3 separate regions of the Homo sapiens genome follow, and all the other regions are linked to region 3. Evidence: promoter capture Hi-C in 16 types of primary human blood cells and fetal thymus (Javierre and others, 2016). All regions are on one chromosome and are shown on one strand. Each heading gives the region's core, a stretch centred on a gene start or on the middle of the fragment in contact. The rest is flanking DNA. Distances are from core to core; before and after follow the strand shown. Region 1 overlaps MYH11 (myosin heavy chain 11). Region 2 overlaps MYH11 (myosin heavy chain 11). Region 3 holds the start of MYH11 (myosin heavy chain 11).

The links. The method cuts DNA at HindIII sites, captures the fragments that hold promoters and counts their contacts. A CHiCAGO score of 5 or more calls a contact.
Region 1: a contact is called between a fragment that was not itself captured here and the fragment with the promoter of MYH11 in region 3, in 2 of 17 cell types (megakaryocytes and endothelial precursors). The highest score is 6.6, in megakaryocytes.
Region 2: a fragment that was not itself captured here is called in contact with the fragment with the promoter of MYH11 in region 3 in 2 of 17 cell types (endothelial precursors and megakaryocytes); the score reaches 6.5 in endothelial precursors.

The regions. Positions count from the first base shown.
Region 1 is chr16:15,800,055-15,803,628 of GRCh38, reverse strand. The region is part of intron 3 of MYH11 (myosin heavy chain 11); the gene reads left to right. Among named protein-coding and RNA genes, the nearest start is that of MYH11, 55 kb to the left of the region's middle. The HindIII fragment of the contact is 4,109 bases long and covers 1-3,574 here.
Region 2 is chr16:15,816,887-15,820,310 of GRCh38, reverse strand. All of the region lies in intron 3 of MYH11 (myosin heavy chain 11), which reads left to right. Among named protein-coding and RNA genes, the nearest start is that of MYH11, 38 kb to the left of the region's middle. The HindIII fragment of the contact is 155 bases long and covers 1,923-2,077 here.
Region 3 is chr16:15,855,439-15,858,535 of GRCh38, reverse strand. MYH11 (myosin heavy chain 11) reads left to right here and starts at 1,508. Exons shown (of 41, transcript NM_002474.3): 1 at 1,508-1,595. RefSeq lists an enhancer at 1-462. The HindIII fragment of the contact is 5,018 bases long and covers 1-3,097 here.

The sequences.
Region 1 (3,574 bases), core at 515-3,014, 55 kb after region 3:
CCCAGGAGGTTCTCTCTGTCTGGGTTCTAATCACAGGGTACCTGGTTCTTCTATCCTTCACCCTCTTTTAAAAAATCACTTTTTAGTACTTTGGGAGGCTGAGGCGGGCGGATCACCTGAGGTCAGGAGTTCGAGACCAGCCTGGCCAACATGGTGAAACCCCGTCTCTACAAAAAATAGAAAAATTAGCCAGGCGTGGTGGCACGCACCTGTAGTCCCAGCTACTCGGGGGGCCGAGGTGGAAGAATTGCTTGAAACCAGGAGGCAGAGGTTGCAGTGAGCCAAGATCGAGCCACTGCACTCCAGCCTGGGTGACAGAGCGAGACTCCATTTCAGAAAAAAAAAAAAAATTAAACTGGTTTCCCATTTTGCTCTGTCCTCGAGTGAATTTCTCCCCCTGGGTGGAAGCTAAAGGCACGGGTATCTGTCTGTCTCCAGAGTATAATGGAGAGATTAAAGTTTGATTGCTTTTTTCCTGCTTTTTTTTTCTTTGAGATGGGGTCTTGCTCTGTTGCCCAGGCTGGAGTGCAGTGGCAAAATCTCAACTCACTGCAACCTCCACCTCCTGGGTTCAAGTGATTCTCCTGCCTTAGCCTCCCGAGTAGCTGGGACTACAGGTGCCTGCCGCCATGCCTGGCTAATTTTTTGTATTTTTAGTAGAGATGGGTTTCACCATGTTGCCCAGGCTGGTCTCGAACTCCTGACCTCAGGTGATCCACCCACGTGCTGGGATTACAGGTGTGAGCCACCACGCCCGGCCTCCTTTCTCTTATAAATAGGGACACCATTGATTTAGGTCTCACTCCAAGCCAGGATGACCTCATCTCAACATCCTTCCCTTAATTACATCTGCAAGACCCTTATTCTAAATAAAATCACAGGTGGGATACAGTGGCTCACGCCTGTAATCCCAGCACTTTGGGAGGCTGAGGCAGGTGGGTCACTTGAGCCCAAGAGTGTGAAACCAGCCTGGGCAACATAGCAAGACCCAATCTCTACAAAAAATACAAAAATTAGCCGGGCATGCTGGCATGTGCCTATAGTCCCAGCTACAGGGGAGGCCGAAGAGGGAGGATTGCTTGAGCCTGGGAGGTTGAGGTTGCAGTGAGCTGAGATCACGCCACTGTACACCCACCTGGGCGACAAAGTGAGACCCCATCTCAATCAATTGGTTAGTCAATAACATCGCAGTCTGAGGTTCTGAGTGAACATAGCTTTTGGGAGTCACAGTTCAACCCACCCTAGTGACCTTGGGCAAGTTGCCTCACTTCTGAACCTCACTCTCCTTATTTGTAAAATGGAGGCAATGCCAGTGCCCACCCCAGGAGCTGCTGAGAGAATTCAGTGGGTCACTTCAACACAGAAGTTCAGCATACGCCTGCAGTGCAGTGAGTGCTCGGGAGATCGGAGCTGTTAGTGGGATCCTAATGCGGTGGCTCTTTCTTTTCTGTCTTTTTTTAGCTTTGTGGTCATGATGGTTTCATAAAGAACAATACCGACTCTTTTTCTATTGACCATTTTTGGTGGGATGAGGAAAAGATTGTATGTGTTCATAGCACAAACATAACCAGGATAGAAGTAGAATGGGTGAAAGTAGGTCTTCCTCCTGTCCCTTTTCTCAATACTTCAGGCTCAGGCCTGTTTGTTGGTTTTTTTTGTTTGTTTTGTTTTGTTTTTGGAGTCTCGCTCTGTTGCCCAGGCTGGAGTGTAGTGGCATGATCTCACCTCACTGCAACCTCCACCTCCTGGGTTGAAGTGATTCTCCTGCCTCAGCCTCCGGAGTACCTTGGATTACAGGTGCATGCTACCATGCCCAGCTAATTTTTGTATTTTTAGTAGAGACAGCGTTTCACCATGTTGGCCAGGCTGGTCTTGAACTCCTGACCTCAAGTGATCTGCCCGCCTCAGCCTTCCGAAGTGCTGGGATTACAAGTGTGAGCCACCGCACCCATCCCAGGTCTGTTTTTAGAGATAGGGTCTCACTCCATTGCCCAGGCTGGAGTGCAGTGGTGTAATCACAGCTCACTGCAACCTTGAACTCCTTGGCTCAAGGGATCCTACTGTCTCAGCCTCCCAAGTAGCTGGGACAAGGGGTATGTCTATCACACATAGCTAATTAAAAAAAAATTTTTTTTTGTAGAGACTGGGTCTTGCTATGTTGTCCAGGCTGGTCTGGAACTCCTGGCCTCAAGTGATCCTCCCATCTCAGCCTCCCAAAGTGTTGAGATTACAGGCATGAACCACTGCATCCTACCTATATATCTGTCTTTTTAAAACACAAAAGGTATAACACTATGCTACCTCATCTTTTATTTTTAGCTTAATATATTTTGGATATTTTTCTGTGTCCATCCACAAAGCTCTGCCTGGTTCTTTTCAATGGCTGCCTATTTTATTTATGTATTTATATCTTATTTGTTTTTGAAACAGAGTCTTGCTCTGTTGCCCAGCCTGGCATGCAGTGGCACGATCTCGGCTCACTGCAACGTCCGCCTCCTGAGTTCAAGCAATTTTCCTGCCTCAGCCTTCTGAGTAGCTGGGATTACAAGCGTGTGCCATGACACCCAACTAATTTTTGTATTTTTAGTGGAGATGGGGTTTCACCATGTTAGCCAGGCTGGTCTGGAACTCCTGAACTCAAGTGATCCACCCTCCTTGGCCTCCCAAAGTGGTGAGATTACAGGCATGAGCCACTGCGCCCGGCCTGCCTATTTTTAAATGTGCCATTATATAAACACACCAGAATTGAAACCCCAGAGCTGACTAGTCTTTAGGCCTTTTGTCTTGAGGATTTCGTTCAACCAGGCCACCCAAACATCCATCTATAATCCGAGGGAAGAGAGAGAGAACTGATTGGAGTTGGGCATAGAATCTGAGGAACGTGCCCACATCCAATCAGTTCTCTCTTAAGATTACAGATGGAAGAAAGAGTCATCTCTTTCACCTTGCCTTCTTCAGTCCCATCCATCCTCCCATTCATATTCCCATCCATCCATCCATCCATCCATCCATCCATCCATCCATCCATCCAACTCATTTACCGGCCTATACACTCTGTCCTCCCTCCCATTCACCCACCCATCCACTCTCTCATCCACTCACTCATCCTTCCCTCCTCCGTCCAACCATCCGTCCAACCAGCTATATACCCACCCATCTACCCATCTACACACCCTTCCCTCCTTTCTTCTTTCTTTCTTCCTATCTATCCATCCATCCTTCCTTCTTTCCATCCATCTATTCGTCCACCTACCCACCCACCCACTCATCCATTTGTCTTCCTGTCTCTCTACCTGTCCATCTATCCATCCTTCCATCCAGCCATCTGTCTGCCTATTCACCCAGCCTCCCATCCATTTATCCTCCCGTCCATTTACCTATCCATCCATTCTTCCATCCACCCATCCTTTCTTCCTTCCTTCTTTCCTTTCTTCCTTCCTTCCACTCACTTGCCCATCCACCTCTTCTTCCATCCTCCCATCCATCTACTCATCTATCCATCCATTTTCCCACCCATCTGCCCATCCACCCACCCACCTACTCACCTACTCATCTGCTTATCCACCCTCCCGTC
Region 2 (3,424 bases), core at 751-3,250, 39 kb after region 3:
TAGAGATGGGGTTTCACCATGTTACCCAGGATGGTCTCGATCTCCTGACATTGTGATCTGCCCGCCTCAGCCTCCCATAGTGCTGGGATTACAGGCATGCACCATCACACCAGGCTAATTTTGTATTTTTAGTAGAGATGGGGCTTTACCATGTTGGTCAGACTGGTCTTGAACTCCTGGCCTCAGGTGATCCTCCCACCTCGGCCTCCCAAAGTGGTGGGATTACAGGTGTGCACCACCACACTTGGCCCCTGAATCTTTTTTTTGGCCTTTCCAAGGCCACTGACTTTGCCAGTCACTGCACCTTGTTTTCCAGAACTGCCACTTTGTTTTGTGTTCATATCATGATGGTGGCTATTGATACCCAATAATTGGCAAGGTGAAGCCACTGAATCGTCGGAGAAGGAGGTTTCGGTGGAGTTTGATCGCTCTTGTAGTCATTGAAGAATACTTTTGTGTTGTGGGGACTTTTGCTTTCCTAGACCAGCAGTCCCCAACCTTTTTGACACCAGGGACCAGTTTCATAGAAGTCAGTTTTTCCATGGACCGCAGGGGAGAGATGGTTCGGGATGATTCGAGCGCATTACATTTATTGTGCACTTTATTTCTATGATTACATTGTCATATATAATGAAATCATTATACAACTCACCATCATGTAGAATCAGTGGGAGCCCTGAGCTTGTTTTCCTGCAACTAGACGGTCCCATCTGGGGGTGATGGGAGACAGTGACAGATCATCAGGCATTAGATTCTCATAAGGAGCACACAGCCTGGATCCCTCTTATGTGCAGTTCACAGTAGGGTTGGTGGTTCTATAAGAGTCTAATGCCGCCTCTGATCTGAGAGGAAGCAGAGCTCAGGCAGTAATTGGAGTGATAGGGAGTGGCTGTAAATACAGATGAAGCCCACTACTCACCTCCTGCTGTGCAGTACCAGTCGGTGGTTTGAGATGCCTGCGCTAGACCACCTCTTAACTGTGAGGCAATGTTGTAATTGACAAGGACACCCTGTGTTCATATATTTGATTCCTCATGGTCTCTAGGTTTTAACACAAAATTGCATAGTCAGCTCTCTTGAAACTACTTAGAAATGCTCACTTGACACATAGTAAGCTCCAATAGGAAATGACTATCATGATTGAGCACAGCAGCATGTCTTCAGTCCTAGCACTTTGGGAGGCCAAGGCAGGAGGATCACTTGAGGCCAGGAGTTAGAGACCAGCCTGGCCAACATAGTGAGCTCTTGTCTCTACAAAAAAATAATTAGCTGGCCACAGTGCGTGAGTCTGTAGTCCTAGCTACTCTGGAGGCTGAGGCAGGAGGATGGCTTGAGCCCAGGACTTCAAGAATGCAGTGTGCTATGATCGTGCTATGGTACTCCAGCCTTGGCAACAGAGTAAGACCCTGTCACGAAAGAAAGAAAGAAAATGAAAACCGTGAATATGCACATCCATAAAAGATAAACTCTTTACTTAATTTAAATGTTAACCAACACCTGCTATGCCCTCGTCTATTTTGGCATGACCTGGTGCTTTCTGGCAAATCATTGATGGCGGACTCCAAAAATAAAAAGAATCGGGCACGGTGGCTAACGCCTGTAATCCCAGCACTTTGGGAGGCCAAGGTGGGGGGATCATGAGATCAGGAGATCGAGACCATCCTGGCTAACGTGGTGAATCTCCGTCTCTACTAAAAATACAAAAAAAACTAGCCAGGCACAGTGGCAGGCGCCTGTAGTCCCAGCTACTCAGGGGGTGCTGAGGCAGGAGAATGGTGTGAACCCAAGAGGCGGAGCTTGCAGTGAGCCGAGATCACGCCACTGCACTCTAGCCTGGGCAACAAAGCGAGACTCCATCTCAAAATAAATAAATAAATAAAAAATAAAAAGAATGTCAAAAATAATGGAGAAAAATTTAAGCTTGGGAAGAATTCCGTTCACCTGCTTAATTTTTTCTCCATTCCCAAGTAGGAAATTGGTTTTTGTGAAGAAACACGTAGGCCCAGTGTGTTGACTCCATTGATAAATGGCACGATCTCATTCTGTTAAGTCACTGGGCTGCGATCCACACTAAGCTTACCATGAAGGTGGAGAGAGAAAGCTAGCACATGTGGCTTCTTCCTTGAGTTCTTCATGGAAAAGATGGGGTGTGAAAAGGCGGGATTGAGGAGGGATGGGTAACACACATGCACTGAATATAAGATGAAGCATTGCAGTTGTGTCACATAGACAGTAAGTTCCTGAGGACCTATAAACTCCATCCTTCTTGCATGTGCATCATTGTATCTCCAGCACATTTTCTGGTGCCTGGCACATAGTAGCTGCTCAGTATTTGTTGAATCAATGAATTATTAGAGTTATTTATAGAAAAGAACCTACCAGGGTCAGGATGGATGGGGTGGGTTATTTGAGAGAGGTGGGGCTTTATAAGCCTCGAAGAATGGTTTGCTAAGGTGAGAGAAGGGGGCAGGGATGGCTTTCTAGCCAAGAATAATAAAAGCATAAATGTAGGGGTGAGAATGGGTATGATGAGTGTGGCAGGAGCTGGTTTAGAGGGGTTGACTAGTATACTGTGGCAGGGAGCTCAGAGCCAGAGCTCAGCCCTTTGCTGCCTCACAGGAGTTGGGAAAATGGGAGGGACTTTCTAAGAGATACTTCACAACATGGCACCCTCCCAAGTGGAAGCCAAGCCCCTTGAGGGTATGGGAAGAGAAGCTGATATTTAAAATATGTATCTTATATCTGCATATGCATAAATTATGTCATGTTTATTTTTTAAATTCTCCCCCCCTTTTTTTTTGAGGCAGAGTCTCGCCCTGCCACCCAGGCTGGAGTGCAGCAGCACGATCTCAGCTCAGTGGTATGATTTCTGCTCACTGCAACCTCTGTCTCCTGGGTTCAAGCAATTCTTGTGCCTCAGCCTCCTGAGTAGCTGGGACTACAGGCACACACCACCATGCCTGGCTAATTTTTGTATTTTTAGTAGAGATGGGGTTTTGCCATGTTGGCCAGGCTGGTTTCAAACTCCTGACCTCAGGTGATCTGCCCGCCTCAACCTCCCAAAGTGCTGAGATTACAGGCATGAGCCACTGCGCCCGGCCGTGGTTTGTTTTTGGAAAGATGTTACATACAAATTCAAAAGGTGAACTTCTCCCTTCAACCCTTGTGCATTAGACCCTTAGCTTCCCTCCCAAGAGACAATTATGGTTTCTAGTGTATGAGGTTTTCTCCTAGAGATATTTTTGCAAGTATAAGCAAATAGGTATCTATTTTCTTCCCTAAGATTTCCCTACAAATACTAGCATTCCATATATATACAGTCCTATATTTTGCCAGAGGATGTTACATATCAGTGCATGTAGGAATTCCTTGTTCCCTTTTTTAAAAAATTGGTTTTTATTTTTGTTAAAAGTATTCATGCAGA
Region 3 (3,097 bases), core at 259-2,758:
AGGGCCCCCTCCCCCGACGCCGGGGAGCAGGAAGGCCACTCGGCACCATATTTAGTCAGGGGGAGCCGGCAGCCCAGAGCTGGTATGCGGCGCTGGGAATTCCTGCAGGAAGGAGTCCGCGCCTGCCCTTTTTGGGTTGTCTCCCGCCCGCCGCTCCCGCCGCTCCCGGGGAGGGGGACCGGCCCGGCCCGGCCCGGCCCGGGAACCTCGGAGGAGCTGGTGCCGCGCGGGGAGCGGAGCGCCCGGGCTGCCCGCGGGTCCCCGGCCTGGCGCGGGGCCAGCCCACCGCCTCGACTTCCTTTTATGGCCTGTGTGTGCGTGCGTGGACAGGAGCGGGGAGGGAGGGACGGGGAGAAGACGGAGAGCCTGGGGAAGAGAGAGAGAGAAAGCGCAGAGATAGGAGTGAGACACGCGGGAGAGATGGAGAGCAAGAGACACAGAGACCAGAGACAAAGTGAGACAGGAGGGAGAGACAGATACATCGACAGATCTAGAGAAGCGAGAGGGACAGAGACAAAAGATAGAGCGAGAGACAGCAATGATCAGAGTGACAGACATGCAGAGACAGTGGCAGAGACAGAGCGAGAGAGCCTGTGATGGAGAGAGACAGGGAATGCAATTTTAGGCGAGGAATCCTTGGGGAAGGGAAGTTGTTGAAGGGAACTCGCAGACTCTGGGGGCACACCCACTTTCTCCTTGGATCTTGACACTTGCATCTTGTAAATAACGTAATTATCACCGCCACCGCCTTCCCCCATTTTGTAGCTATGGACACCAAGTCTCAGAGAAGTGAAGTGACTTGCCCAAGGTCACGCAGCTGGCGAGTGGCGCACAGGGGAGGGGGACAGCTGAAATAATCACAGTGGGCTTATTTTTAATTTTTATTTGTATTTTGGTCGTGGTGATGTGGGTGGAGGTGGAGATGGCAAGTTGGGAAAAGTAAAAACTTCCCCTTCCTGCACGGTTCCCAGCAAGGGTGGGGGCCTCCTGTCTTGCACTTTGCAAAGTTCAAGAAATCCCCTTTCCCTACCCTTCACGCTGCACAGCCGGCCCTCTTTCCAGACAGTGCGATGCCAATAAAATGGGAAGTGGGGTGGGAGATGTCAAGTCAGATCCACCACAGCCCCGACACGGGGAGGAAGAGGTTAAAGCCTTTGCGGCCGGAACCGACTCAGGGAAGACGTTCTCAAGCATCCCGCACAGACACTGCCTGCTCGACCCCCTTTCTCTAGGGATCCGGAGCGTCTGCGACCGCCTGGGGCCGGGGCTGAGACTCCCGTCCCTGTGCGCACCTGTTCCGTGCGCCCTTGTGCGGTGCGCACCTGTTCCGTGCACCCTTGTCCCGAGCGCCCCAGCTCCTTGCGCTCCCGCCGGGGGTGCGCCCTGCAGGGGGCGCGGCGAGGGGGCCGCGAGGGACCCTCCCCAACTCCACCCCTTCGGCCTCCTCCCCTTTCCCAGCCGCGGGCAGCTCCGGGTCTATAAAGAGAGGCGTCCGAGGACGCGCAGGGAGATTTGGACGCTCCGGCCTGGGAGGTGCGTCAGATCCGAGCTCGCCATCCAGTTTCCTCTCCACTAGTCCCCCCAGTTGGAGATCTGTAAGTAGTAGTTGTCATTCTGGGGGCAGATTGCAGGGCAGGGGGGTGTTAAAAGTCCTATAGGGTATTCTATAGGGGCTGGGGTGCACTTAGGGGTCCCTGTTGTCAACCTCGTAAGGGCCATGGTGGGGGCAGAGTTGTGATTTGGATCTCTCTCTGCCTTATCGTCTTAGATTATCCTAGACTTTCCCCAAACAGCATTTCTTAAGATTGCCAGTGAGAAGTACCATTTTGGGGGTGCTTATTAACGATATCAATGCCTGGACCCAACTCCATTTCCCAACTCTAGAATCCCCAGAAAAACTGCCTTAAAAAAAAAAAAATTAGTCCCGAGTGATTCTTGTTAAGAGGCTAATCCAGGAGATATGCTCCCTTGGAAATCTCAGAGGTCCGGTGCAGACAATCAAGGCATCTCACTTTTATTCTAGGCACCAAAAAATTTACAGCTGAACTTCACTGAAAAGTCACTTGCTATCACACAGAAGGGCAAAGTGAGGCTCCTTGTGGATTTGACCGTATTGCACAGTTGTGTTGATAATGCATTAAATCAGTTAAAAACACATGGGCATAGGCTTAGCAGAAAGGAGTGTTGTTGTTTTTTTTTTTTAATCAGTTTAGGGGAGGTTCTTCTATGTTGAGAACCCCTGGGAGATAAGGCTGGTTGTGATCTAGTTTGTTACAGCCCACTTTTTCCTCTTCTCCAAATTAAAAAAAAAAAAAACAACTCACCCAGGTTGACCCCAAAGGGCCCCCAGATACCCAGGTGGGCTCCAAAGTCTCCATTTGCTTCCACGATCTGCAGGTGCGTTAGGTAAGATTACACTAGAATTTCCCGCAGAGCCACCTGTGTCAATGCCACTCTCGTGCCCAACCAAATGGGTAAAACGAGAGAAAGTGTGGCTACTGCCTGTTGTAAGTTTTCTTCCAGCACAGGGTCTGGTAGGGATTTTGCCACTTGAGAAAAGGTACCATCCAAAGCCATGCTTGTCAAGAAGTAAAAGAAAATATTTAGAAACCCAAGGTGGGAGTGTTTAGTTGCAGTATGAAGAACTGAGAGATTAAATGGTGAACTGTCCGTCCGGGGTTTGGCAAAAAGAATGCAGGCTATTAATAAACTGCTTTGCATAGTTTTTTGTTTCTTTGATTTACTCAACGATACTATTTTAGAATTGTTCAGAGACGGAACTTGACGCTGAACTGAAAGTCATTAGGTGGCAGGGTGTGAAATAAGATAGAGAATTTTGTTTGAAGGAAATTGATGTTTTCCCTTTGAGATAGCTACCGTTGATGGAACACTTCAGTGCCACATGCTGTTGCAACATTTAACTTAATTTATCTCATTTAATCTTTGCAACAACTTCATAAGAAAGGCTTTATGATGCCTGTTTAGTATACAAGGCAGCTGAGGCTCAGAGAGGTAAAGTGTCACACAGCCAGCAAGTGGTAGAACCCATTCCCGGGTCAGTTTGAGTCCAAGTTCATACCCTTGACCCCACTATCTT